Linked DNA regions of Homo sapiens: region 2 is linked to region 1. The links are contacts of gene promoters, found by promoter capture Hi-C in human tissues and cell types (Jung and others, 2019). All regions are on one chromosome and are shown on one strand. The core of a region is centred on a gene start or on the middle of the fragment in contact, and the rest is flanking DNA. Distances in the headings are between cores, read along the strand shown. Region 1 holds the start of GJA3 (gap junction protein alpha 3). Region 2 overlaps ZMYM2 (zinc finger MYM-type containing 2).

What was found. The method cuts DNA at HindIII sites, captures the fragments that hold promoters and counts their contacts. A contact is called where the count stands out against the background at its distance.
Region 2: a contact is called between a fragment that was not itself captured here and the fragment with the promoter of GJA3 in region 1, in 2 of the 25 tissues and cell types used here (IMR-90 fibroblasts and lymphoblastoid cells).

What each region holds. Positions count from the first base shown.
Region 1 is chr13:20,157,948-20,163,257 of GRCh38, forward strand. GJA3 (gap junction protein alpha 3) reads right to left here and starts at 3,105. Exons shown (of 2, transcript NM_021954.4): 1 at 2,943-3,105. RefSeq lists silencers at 2,836-2,925, 3,086-3,165, 3,396-3,755. The HindIII fragment of the contact is 27,118 bases long and covers 1-5,310 here.
Region 2 is chr13:20,015,545-20,020,854 of GRCh38, forward strand. ZMYM2 (zinc finger MYM-type containing 2) reads left to right here. Exons shown (of 25, transcript NM_197968.4): 7 at 4,003-4,074. Among named protein-coding and RNA genes, the nearest start is that of ZMYM2, 59 kb to the left of the region's middle. The HindIII fragment of the contact is 4,232 bases long and covers 1,021-5,252 here.

The DNA of each region.
Region 1 (5,310 bases), core at 1,855-4,354:
CTCAGCCTCCTGAGTAGCTGGGACTATAGGTTTGTACCACCACACTGGGCTAATTTTATAAAAAATATTTTGAAGTGACTGTATCTCACTATATTGCCTGGGCTGGTCTCAAACTCCTGGGCTCAAGAGATCCTCCTGCCTCAGCCTCCCAAAAAGTGCTGGGATTACATGCATGAGCCACCACACCCAGTCAGAATTATCTTTTTAAAGTAAATTCAGATATTTTTACTCTTGCTTAGTGAACAAAATCCCACAACCTGATAATTATGGTATTTTATTATTCCACTGATATTACTGATAAAAATTACATCTGTCAAAATATTTTCTATTTTTTTGCAGAAATAATTTCTATAGTATTAGTATGATTTCACTTTTCTTACTCAAATCTACTTCTATTGCTGTGTAACCAGAAATTGCTTCTATGTTCTAGAATAAAAGATTTATTTTAAAATCAACAGGAAATGGAGTTTCAGGAATAAATAAGCAATAATCCATGGAGATAATCAGGAGGTCTAAATGTAAAAAGCTAATTAATTTTTATATCTAGTATCATTAGTTTGTTAACAGTAAATTTAAAGCAAACCAATTCTTCAAATTAAATAAGACACATAAGAGTGTGGAAACTATTCACATCAACCATTACTTTTGGAGATGTACAGGAGTTTTAAAAAAGCAAGCAGTAGGCTGGGCGCGGTGGCTCACGCCTGTAATTCCAGCACTTTGGGAGGCTGAGGTGGGTGGATCACCTGAGGTCAGGAGTTTGAGACCAGCCTGTCCAACATGGTGAAACTGTGTCTCTACTAAAAATACAAAAATTAGCCAGGCGTGGTGGCGCATGCCTGTAATCCCAGCTACAAGGGAGGCTGAGGCAGGAGAATCGCTTTAACTGGGAGGCAGAAGTCGCAATGAGCCAAGACTGTGCCACTGTGCCATTGCACTCCAGCCTGGACAAGAGCAAAACTCTCAAAAAAAAAAAAAAAAAAAAAAAAGAAAAAGAAAAAGAAAAAAAGCAAGCAGTAGAGTACTAACCTAGTTATCATGAGGAATTTTCCACCACTGTAGGAATGAAAATTAAGATGAAACTTTATTATTTTTATTGCCTTTAAGCATTATACAGAAATTGCAGAAACATACTGTTTTTTAGAGACATATATGCTGTTGTCACATATATTGGATTTTTTCCCTCCTCAATTCAGTAAACATTTATTATTATTATAAAACATTATTACCTATTGTGTGTGGCACTGTGCCACACACTGAGGACAGCAAAACAATTAAGATCCAGTCCTCACTCTCAGGAGATTCATTTGCAATCTATGAGAGAGGCAGAGTGGCAAAAAACAGATCAAAATGTAAGTACTACATAGTACTGGGAATAGCTACCATCCAGCGGAGGGAGGAAGAAGGCATGGTGGTAGACGCCTGTAGTCCCAGCTACTCGGGAGGTTGCAGTGAGCCGAGATCGCACCACTGCACTCCAGCCTGGGTGACAGAGCGAGACTCCATCTCAAAAAAAAAAAAAAAAAAAAAAAAAAAAAAGGCTGCGATAAACGTAATTTTTCGTTTCAAATGTAGTGTGTACACGTTATTTTAGCTAAGAGAAATGAATATAATAAGTTAAAATGTGAGTAACATTCAAGAAAACTGGGTCAAAAATATTTTCCTTATTGGCAAAAAATTTTGTTACCCGCCATTCTTTTAAGACAGCTTTCAGCCAGTTAACGGTTCCTGGTTAAGAAACAGTACTGTCTGATTTGTTAGAGTAGTACCGTTTCGTGAATTACTTTCCACTACAGCAACACATGCATTGCCCTTATGAGATGCTTATCTCGATATGAACCAAACTGCTGAGCAGGTGGAATCTGTGCCAAACTAGCTGATGTTTACTTTGAACACACTGATATTCGGAAAATAAATCCCTCTTTTTTCCTCTTTAATCTTTTAATGTTTGTCTTGCACATGGATGGACCGCCAGTGAAGTGATGCGCACATCATAAATCACCATGGTTTTTAATTCCTGGGTGATGAGACCCATAATTCGCTTGTCAGCTGTTTGTATAGAATCATTTTTAAATGGCATGTTTTGGAGACATCTTGATAAAATAAAAACTGGAGTTCTAAAGTTGCAGTCACATATTCACGAACCGAGAACTCTACATGGTAGGATGAATTTTGCTCACTAGTGTGGAGTCGGCAACAAAGCAAATGCAGCCGCGTCACTGCCGTTTGTTTTCTCAAGTCTCCTACGGGAAGGGGCTCGGACAGTGCTTTTCCACTCCTCTGCAAATTCCTTATAGTTGAACACATCATAACAAACATACAGGTCGAGAAATCTGGTCGTGGCATTAATAGCTACAGTGTTTCTTAAAAATAAAAAGTTTTAAAAAGTTTCTGAAAAAAATGTAGGCGAGCCAACCTTGTTTCTAAACAATCCCAACAGGACTTTTAGGAGCACGGCGATGCTGAATGCCCGTGGACGGCTGGGTGCGCGCCGTTAGCTGGCGCGGTGACATCTGCTTAGAGTTTTCAAGCATTTCAGCATCGCTAGGAGCCCTACAGCCTGACGGTCCGGGACAGCCCGGCTTCCTCCACCCGAGGGGGAAAACAACCCCAGGAAAACAACTTAAACTCGGCCTTGGACTGTCCATCAAGGGAAGCCAAACGAGGCGCTGCTCTCCAGACCTCCAGGAGCAAAGGAGGAAGATCAATTATTCCAAAAGTTTCTCACAAATTTCCCGAGCTCCCCACAACTTTTTGAAGAATCCTGAAAGAATCCTAGGGGGCTGGGAGCCGCACACGTGCCGGGGCTCGGCTTCCCAGCTCGGCAGTCTCAGCCCGCTGGGCTCGCCCGGCAGCTCCGCTGCGCCGCCGACCCGCCCGTCCCCGCCCCGCGCTGCCCTCGGCCCCTGTGCCTGGCCTCCGGGGCGCCCGGCCCGCCTTACCCCGCTCTGCCGCGGCGGCGACCCGGGTGCGTTCCTCCGGAGCAGGGCTCCCGGCCGCTCTGAAAAGAATTCCTTTCACACGTGCGGTGCTGCTTCACGCGTGCGCCCCGCGCCAGGGCCCGACCTCCCCGCCCTGATCGCCATCCCTGCAGCCCCAGTGTGCGCTGCGCCCGACGCCCCCAAGCTGCAGCTCAGGACGCCGCGCCACGCCCCCGCCGCCTCCGAACAGCCCCGCCCCGCGCGCTTCCCAGCACGCACACCTACCGCCCCCGCATCCCTACCCTGTACGCGCAGCCACAGCACTCGCCCGCGTCCGCATTCCACACCCTACCCCGCGCGCACGTCCATGCCTAGCGCCTGCATCCCCATCCCGCACCTGCGCGGGCCCTGGGGATGTGGACGCGGGGGCTCTTCCCTGCCGCCTACGCACTCCGGGGCATGCCCGCGCGGGACGTGAGAGGAGAGCCGAGGGCTGTTGGGGCGGGCCCGACCCGCTTGCGGGGCGCCCACCGCACGCAGATGCGCCAGCCCGCGCCCCGCTCGCGCCTGTCCTGGGCTTCGCAGGCCCGGCGAGGTAGCTGCTCTCCGGGCGCTCCCACGGTCGGAGGCGCGTGGGCGTCGGGCACCTAGGTCTCGCCCGCCTGCAGCCGCCTGGGGACGCGGGTTCCGGACGGCTGGCGCGGGGCGGGGCGGGGACCACCGAGCAGGAAGTCCCCGCGGAAGCGCCGCCGGGCACAGCGTGGGTGCTGTCGAGGAGTGGCGCCCGGGCGGGGCGGGAGGTTATAAATAGCGGCCGCCATCCTGCTTCTCTTCAGACACACTTAATTTAGCCGGCAGGCACACGGATGCTTATTTTTAAAAAAAGAACTTGTTTTATTGCGCTCGAGGTGACCGGGAAGGTGTCCCCGCGGGTCACTCGCTCCATCTGGTCCTGGAGACGAGATGCCAGGGCGAGGCCTAACCTGCCTGCTGGCGCCCAACGAAGATTTTAACGTTTTCTGTTCCCTTCGGGGTGGTTTTACCACGCTTGAGAGGGACGCCTACCGCGGAAGGCCGCGGACCGAGGGCGGCATCGCGTCCTTGTCTGCTGTCTGGGCACAGCCTAGAGAGGCCGCGGGTCCCCTCCCCGTCCCCCAAGGTCTGGAGTGGGGTTTGACCAGCCTGGGATATTAACAAATATCGGTGGACTGCATTTCGGTGATCATTCCACAAGCTGAAATGGCTTCAAAATCACCTTTATGAGTAATAAGTTTATTCCAGGAATGTGGCAAAATGCAAGTCTGATAGTTTTCGTGTCTTCATGGAGCAGCTTCCGTCGGCTGCCTTCGTTAGCGTTTAGATCTACTCGGATTAGCAGTTGGCTTGCCCTGAAAAATGCGTTTGTTCTGCTGAGATCTGAATTTAAAGTTATCCCAAGGAGGAAAAACTAAGCTCCTAAAGGCGCATCTAAAATATCTTCTCCCTTTGGGAACTTTGCGGTGTATGTATGGAGTAGGTAGTAGTTACGGAGACTTAGTTTTTAATTTTTAATTGAAAAATGCTACCTTTGAAGGTCTTAAAATACTTGAATATTTTTCTCATTTAAAACATTTTCTCTGAGAAGCACAGGAATAGTTTTTTTTTTTTTGTTGATCACAAAAGCACTAGGAATTGTTAATATTTGTAGTCTGTTTGCCAAATGCTATTATTGGTATTCTGAGGATAAAAATGGAAATATAATATTGTAATAATTTTAAAATTTTTATTAAAATATAGATTTTAAATTATATTATGTAATTCGAACAAATATTTTACATATATGTTCATACAAGCATTATTTACTATAGCCAAAAGGTGTCCATCAATGGATGAATGGATAAACAAAATGTATTGCATACCTACAGTGGAATATTATTCAGCCTTAAAAAGGGAGAGCCCCATCACATGCTACAACGTGGACGAACCTTGAGTACATTATGCTAAATGAAATAAGCCAGTCACAAAAGTCACAAATACTGTATGATTCCATTTACATGAGGTACCTACAGCAGTCAAAATCATAGAGACGGAAAGTAGAAGTGTGGTTACCAGCAGCTGGGGCAGTGGGAAACGGGAAGATAGAGTTTCATAGGTACGGAGTTTTAGTTTGGGAAGATAGAAATAGTTTTGGAAGCAGATGATGGTAATGGTTGCATAACAATGTGAATGTACTTAATGCCACAGAACTGTACACATTAAGAAAGGTTAAATGGTAAATTAAAGGTTATGTATATTTTACTACCATAAAACAATTTTTAAAGTGGTATTGTGTAAAGACCAGCACAACTAAGAAGCTAGCAGTTTCTTTACACTTGTCATACTGTACAATTTCTAGGTAGACAACTAAGAT
Region 2 (5,310 bases), core at 1,887-4,386, 140 kb before region 1:
AAATGGTGTATTGATGTCTCCAGCTATTATTGTACAATTATCTGCTTCTACCTCAGTTATTGTCTATTTCTCCTTTTACGTCTGTTAATTTATTTAAGTGTATTTTGGGGGTTTTGATACTTGGTATGTATATGTTTATATTTGTTATATCTTCTTGGTAAGTAGACCCTTTGTTCAGTATGTATTTTTCTGTCTCTTGTGTCAGTTTTTCACATATAGGCTCTTTTTGCCTTATATTAATATGGCAACCCCAACTCTCTTAGTTACTGTTTATTTGTGTGGAGTATCTTTTTCCATCCTTTTACTTTTGACCTGTTTGTATCTTTGGATAAATAAATCCTTCCTTATCAGTAATTACATTAAATGTACATGGATCAAATTATCCGATCAAAAAGCAGAAATTGACAGAATAGGAAAAAAATGATGCCTTTTGATTGGATAATTTGATCCATGTACATTTAACATAATTACCAATAAGGAAGGATTTATTTCTGCCATTTTTCTATTTTTTTTCGGTATATTCTATACCTTTTTTTTGGTATCTCATTTCCTGCATTATGGCTTTTATGTTTAGTTGATTGTAGTGCACTGTTTTGATTTCCTTCTCATTGTCTTTGTATTGTTTTTAAATATATTATTTGTGGTTACTGTGGGGGAGGCTTTACATATAACATCCTATAATTCAATCTAATGTGAATTTATAACAAGTTAATCAGCTTTTAAAAATGCTGCTCCTATATATCTGTTCCCTCTTTTTGTTATAGATTACATTTTTAAGCATTGTATTCCCAGTAATATAGATTTACAATTTTGTGTGCATATTTGTCTTTAAAATCATGTAGGAAATAAAAAGTGGATTTATAAAGCAAAAATACAATTATACTTGTTTTGTATTCTCCCATATATTTACTAAAGATTGGGTCAAGTGTATTCCTTCCATTTCAATAAAAAGCTTTGACTCCTTTTAGCATTTGTTTTGTAGGGTAGATTTAGTGGCAACAAACTCCCTCCACCTTTTATCTGTGTGTCTTTATTTTTCCTTCAGTTTTGGATGATAGTTTTGCTGGACATAGTATTCTTGTTTGAAAGCTTTTTTTTCTCTATTATTTTAAATGTTATTCCACTGCCTTTTGGCCTCCATGGTTGTTTCTTTTGTGAAATTGATGGTTAATCTTATTGAGAATTTCTTGTGCTGAACCATTTCTGTTTTGCTTCTTTCCGTATTTTCTTTGTCTTTTAACGGTTTGATTATAAAGTGTCTTATTGTGTGTCTCTGAGTTTATCCTACATGTAATTTGTTGTGTTTATTAGATTTGTAGATTTGTGTCTGTTATCAAATATGGCAAGTTTTTAGCCATTAATTTTTCAGATAATCTTTTGCCCCTTTCTCTTCTTCTGAAACTCTCAGAAAGTTCATGTTGGTCTATTTGATCTTATTCCATGGGCCCCTTAGGCTTTTGCTTACTTTACTTCATTCTTTCCTTTACTGCTCCTCAGGTTCTGTTACATCAGTCTTGGCCTCTTTACTGCAAATTGTTGGTAAAAGCTCTGACTTTCTGCTGGGTCAGACCACCTCAGTTAGGGTAGAGGTGGTTAAGGTGTCTAATTACCACCCAGTGGGGTGGAAGTTCAAGTTTCCTACTTGGCCTTCTCTGACTTTACCATGGCTAGGGTGCTGGGGTGAGGCATCACATTGTAGCCCGGCCAGGGTGGAAGTCTAGGCTAATTGGCCTTTTCTTGTGTGAATGGGATTAGGGTCTGTGGAGTAGAGGAGCTGTTGTCTTACTGTTTCTCTAGGCTGCTATTTCAACTGTATTTCACCTACAGGTGTGTCATTTCTCTTGCCAGATTCAAGATTTTTTTCTTTGTCTTTGGTTTTCAGAAATTTGAATTTGGTGTATCTTGGTGTTTCTTTGGGTTTTATCCTTCCTAGTGTTTGCTAACCTTCTATCTGTAGATTTATGTCTTTTGCCAAATTTGAGACATTTCAAACAGTAGTGTTTTTGGAGGACTTTTCTAACTCTGTCCTCTTTTTCCTTTCCTTTTGGGACTCCAGTGACATGAATGTTACTTTTTTTTTTTTGTTACAAGCCTACAGATCCCTAAGGCTCTGTTTTACTTTTCCCCCCACCCAGTCTGTTTTTCGGGTTGGGTACTTTTTATTATTCTGTCTTCCAGTTCACTGATTCTTTCCATTTTATTCTTCTGTATATCTTCTATTTCTTTTCTAGAAGTTTCTGTGTTTTCATTTGTTTTTTAAGTGCATGTGTATTGGTTATTGGAGCACTTTTATGATGACTGCTTTAAAATCTTTGTCAGGTATTTCCAATATCTCTGTAATTTTGGTGTTGGCATCTGTTGATTGTCCTTTTCTATTTAAATTCTAGTTTTCCTGGTGTTTGGCATGATAAATGATTTTTTTATTTGAAACTTGAACATTTTGAGTACTATGGTATTGCCAAGTGGAGTTAAAAGGTCGGCCTCTCTACTTGGCCTCTCTACATCTGTGAGGGAGAAGCAGCTTCTTGTTATTGCTGAGTGGATATGGGAGTTCTGGCTCCTTTCTGGACATTAGCTGATACCACCCTGACTAGAGGAGTAGGAGTTCCTTATACTGTTCCCCACATAATCTCTACTGACACCAAATGATTCTTCTTCAGTGGATAGAGAAAATGTTCTTAGTACTATTATTACATAAATAAAAATTATTTAAAATAGTGTTTCTTTTATTCTTTAAAATTACTTGCATGTTTTGTAATTACATACTATATGTTCATAATTCATTAGTTAAATAAATAGGTGGGAGTCCATGCCTTACTATTTTACTGATAAAGAGACCCAATTGGATGTGTTTGGAGACAACTACATGAGATGCTATAGTGAATGTCTTCTTTCTCTGCAACCTGGGAGCTAAAATTGTATCATAATCCTTCCTTACTTTCCTCTCACCCCCTTTGTCCTTTGTCTGTTATATTTAACTTAGCTGCCTTTTGTTGTTTATCTGTGCTCTCATTGCTCACTTAGTTTCTGAAGTGTATTGATACACTTAGTTAATAATCTAGATCCTGGCAGTGGAGACTGTATAATGCTTGTCCTGTGCCTTTCAGTAGTTTTCCTTTTCTAGCATAGTATTTTGACTTTCATGGAAAGCAGGAAGCATATCTTTTAAAACTTTTGTGCAAGGAGTAAGGATATGTATTCGTATTATATGCTGGAAACTGTCATATGTGCTTTCAAAAGAATTTCTCAAACATGCCAGACACGGTGGCTCACGACTGTAATCGCAGCACTTTGGGAGGCCCAGGTGGGCCGATCACTTGAGGTCAGGAGTTGGAGACCAGCCTGGCCAACATGGTGAAACCCTGTCTCTACTAAAAATACAAAAACTAGCCAGGCGTAGTGGCAGGCGCCTGTAATCCCAGCTACTCAGGAGGTTGAGGTGGGAGAATCGCTTGAACCCAGGAGGTGGAGGTTGCAGTGAGCCAAAATCATGCCACTGCAATTCAGCGTGGGTGACAAAGCAAAAACTCCATCTCAAAAAAAAAAAAACAACAACAACAACAAAAAAAAACAATTTCTCAATCCATTTTGCATATGGTGGAAATTGTAGCTGTATAATCTCCAAATGACTTAATTTAGAAAGCTTCGAGTTTCATTATAAGTGTTAACAGTTTTTAAAGAGATCTTAGAACACTCCAAATTAGAAGTGATTTTACTCAGAAATTAGAGGTGAGTCAGATCTAAGTATCTATCTTTAATTCCTTAGCCCATTATTACTGTTTTATCATCATACCATTTTTTCTAAGATAAAATTATTTGATAATTCTTTAAGTTGGGCAACAGTAGTGGGGACAGGACAGGCAGACATTTTTAAAAGTTGGAATGAGTTTGTAAGTCACAAAATATAATTGAGAAGCAACTTTTACATAATGCTTATTTACCTTTCAATGTAGCAGCTATTCTTTATGTGTGTTTATAAAGTCTTTTAAAATCTTTTTTTAGGTAGGTAGCCATCCAAGCTTCCTGAAGGAGGTTCGAGATCACATGCAGGACTCTTTCTTAATGCAGCCTGAGGTAAGCAGGAATGTAAATGGAGTTCAAGGCCTTAACATTTTTGAGCACTGCTACTACTGTCATTAATATGTATCTGAAAAATCTTGTCCAATTTGAAATATATTAAAATTTCCAAACTTAAATTGTATCAAATGATGAATGTTTTATCTCTGAGACATAGATTTCTAATTTCACTAATTTTACATGTATTTTCTTGTGATATGCTCATTTGTCTTTAGTTATTTATGTTCTTAGGAAATTATTTTCAGATTTTTTTAGTGCACAATACCTTGTACACAGTAGGCATTTAATAAAGGGATATAAAAATCCTCTCTTTTGTGCCTACCTGAAAAGTTAAAAAAAAAACCCTTTCTTTCAAAAAAATTTCTAAGTCTGTGTTCCTGTTAATCCAGATAAATGAATTAGTAATGAGTAATAAGTGTTTAAAATTAGGAAGACTTTTAACTGTAGTACAGTTATCAAGATAATGAAATTTACATCAGTAAACTATTATTGTCAGGTTAGTCAATAGAGCGTATTCAAATTTTGTCTGTTAATGTCCCTTACAGCAAATGAAAAACAATTATTTCTTGTCTAGAATCCAGTACAGGATCATAGGCTATTATTATTCCTCTTCTTTTTTTTTTTTTTTTTGAGACAGAGTTTCGCTCTTGTTGCCCAGGCTGGAGTGCAACGGCACCATCTCGGCTCACCGCAACCTCCGCCCCCTGGGTTCAAGCGATTCTCCTGCCTCAGCCTCCCAAGTAGCTGGGATTACAGTCATGCACCACCACACCCGGCTAATTTTGTATTTTTTTAGTAGAGATAGGGTTTCTCCATGTCGGTCAGGCTCCTGACCTCAGGTGATCCACCTGCCTCGGCCTCCCAAGTGTTGGCGTTACAGGCGTGAGCCACCGCGCCCGGCCCATTATTTCTTTAAATATAGTTTTTAGGCCTTTTCCCAACTCTCTTCTTCTGAGACCCCAATTCCAGATAATTCCTGCCACTTTCCCACAGTCACTGAGGCTTGTTTTTTGTTTTTTGTTTTTTGGTATTGTTTTGTATTGTTTTTGTACTGTTTTGTATTTATTTTGCATTGTGGTTTGTATTTGTATTGTTTTTCCCTAGTCTTTTTTTCCTTCTGTACTCCATTTTGGAAAGTTTCTATTGCTGTATCTTTAAGTTTGCTGATCTTTTAAAATCACCTGTGAATACCATGCAGCATATTTTTTCAGATGTTATGTTTTTCGTCTCTAA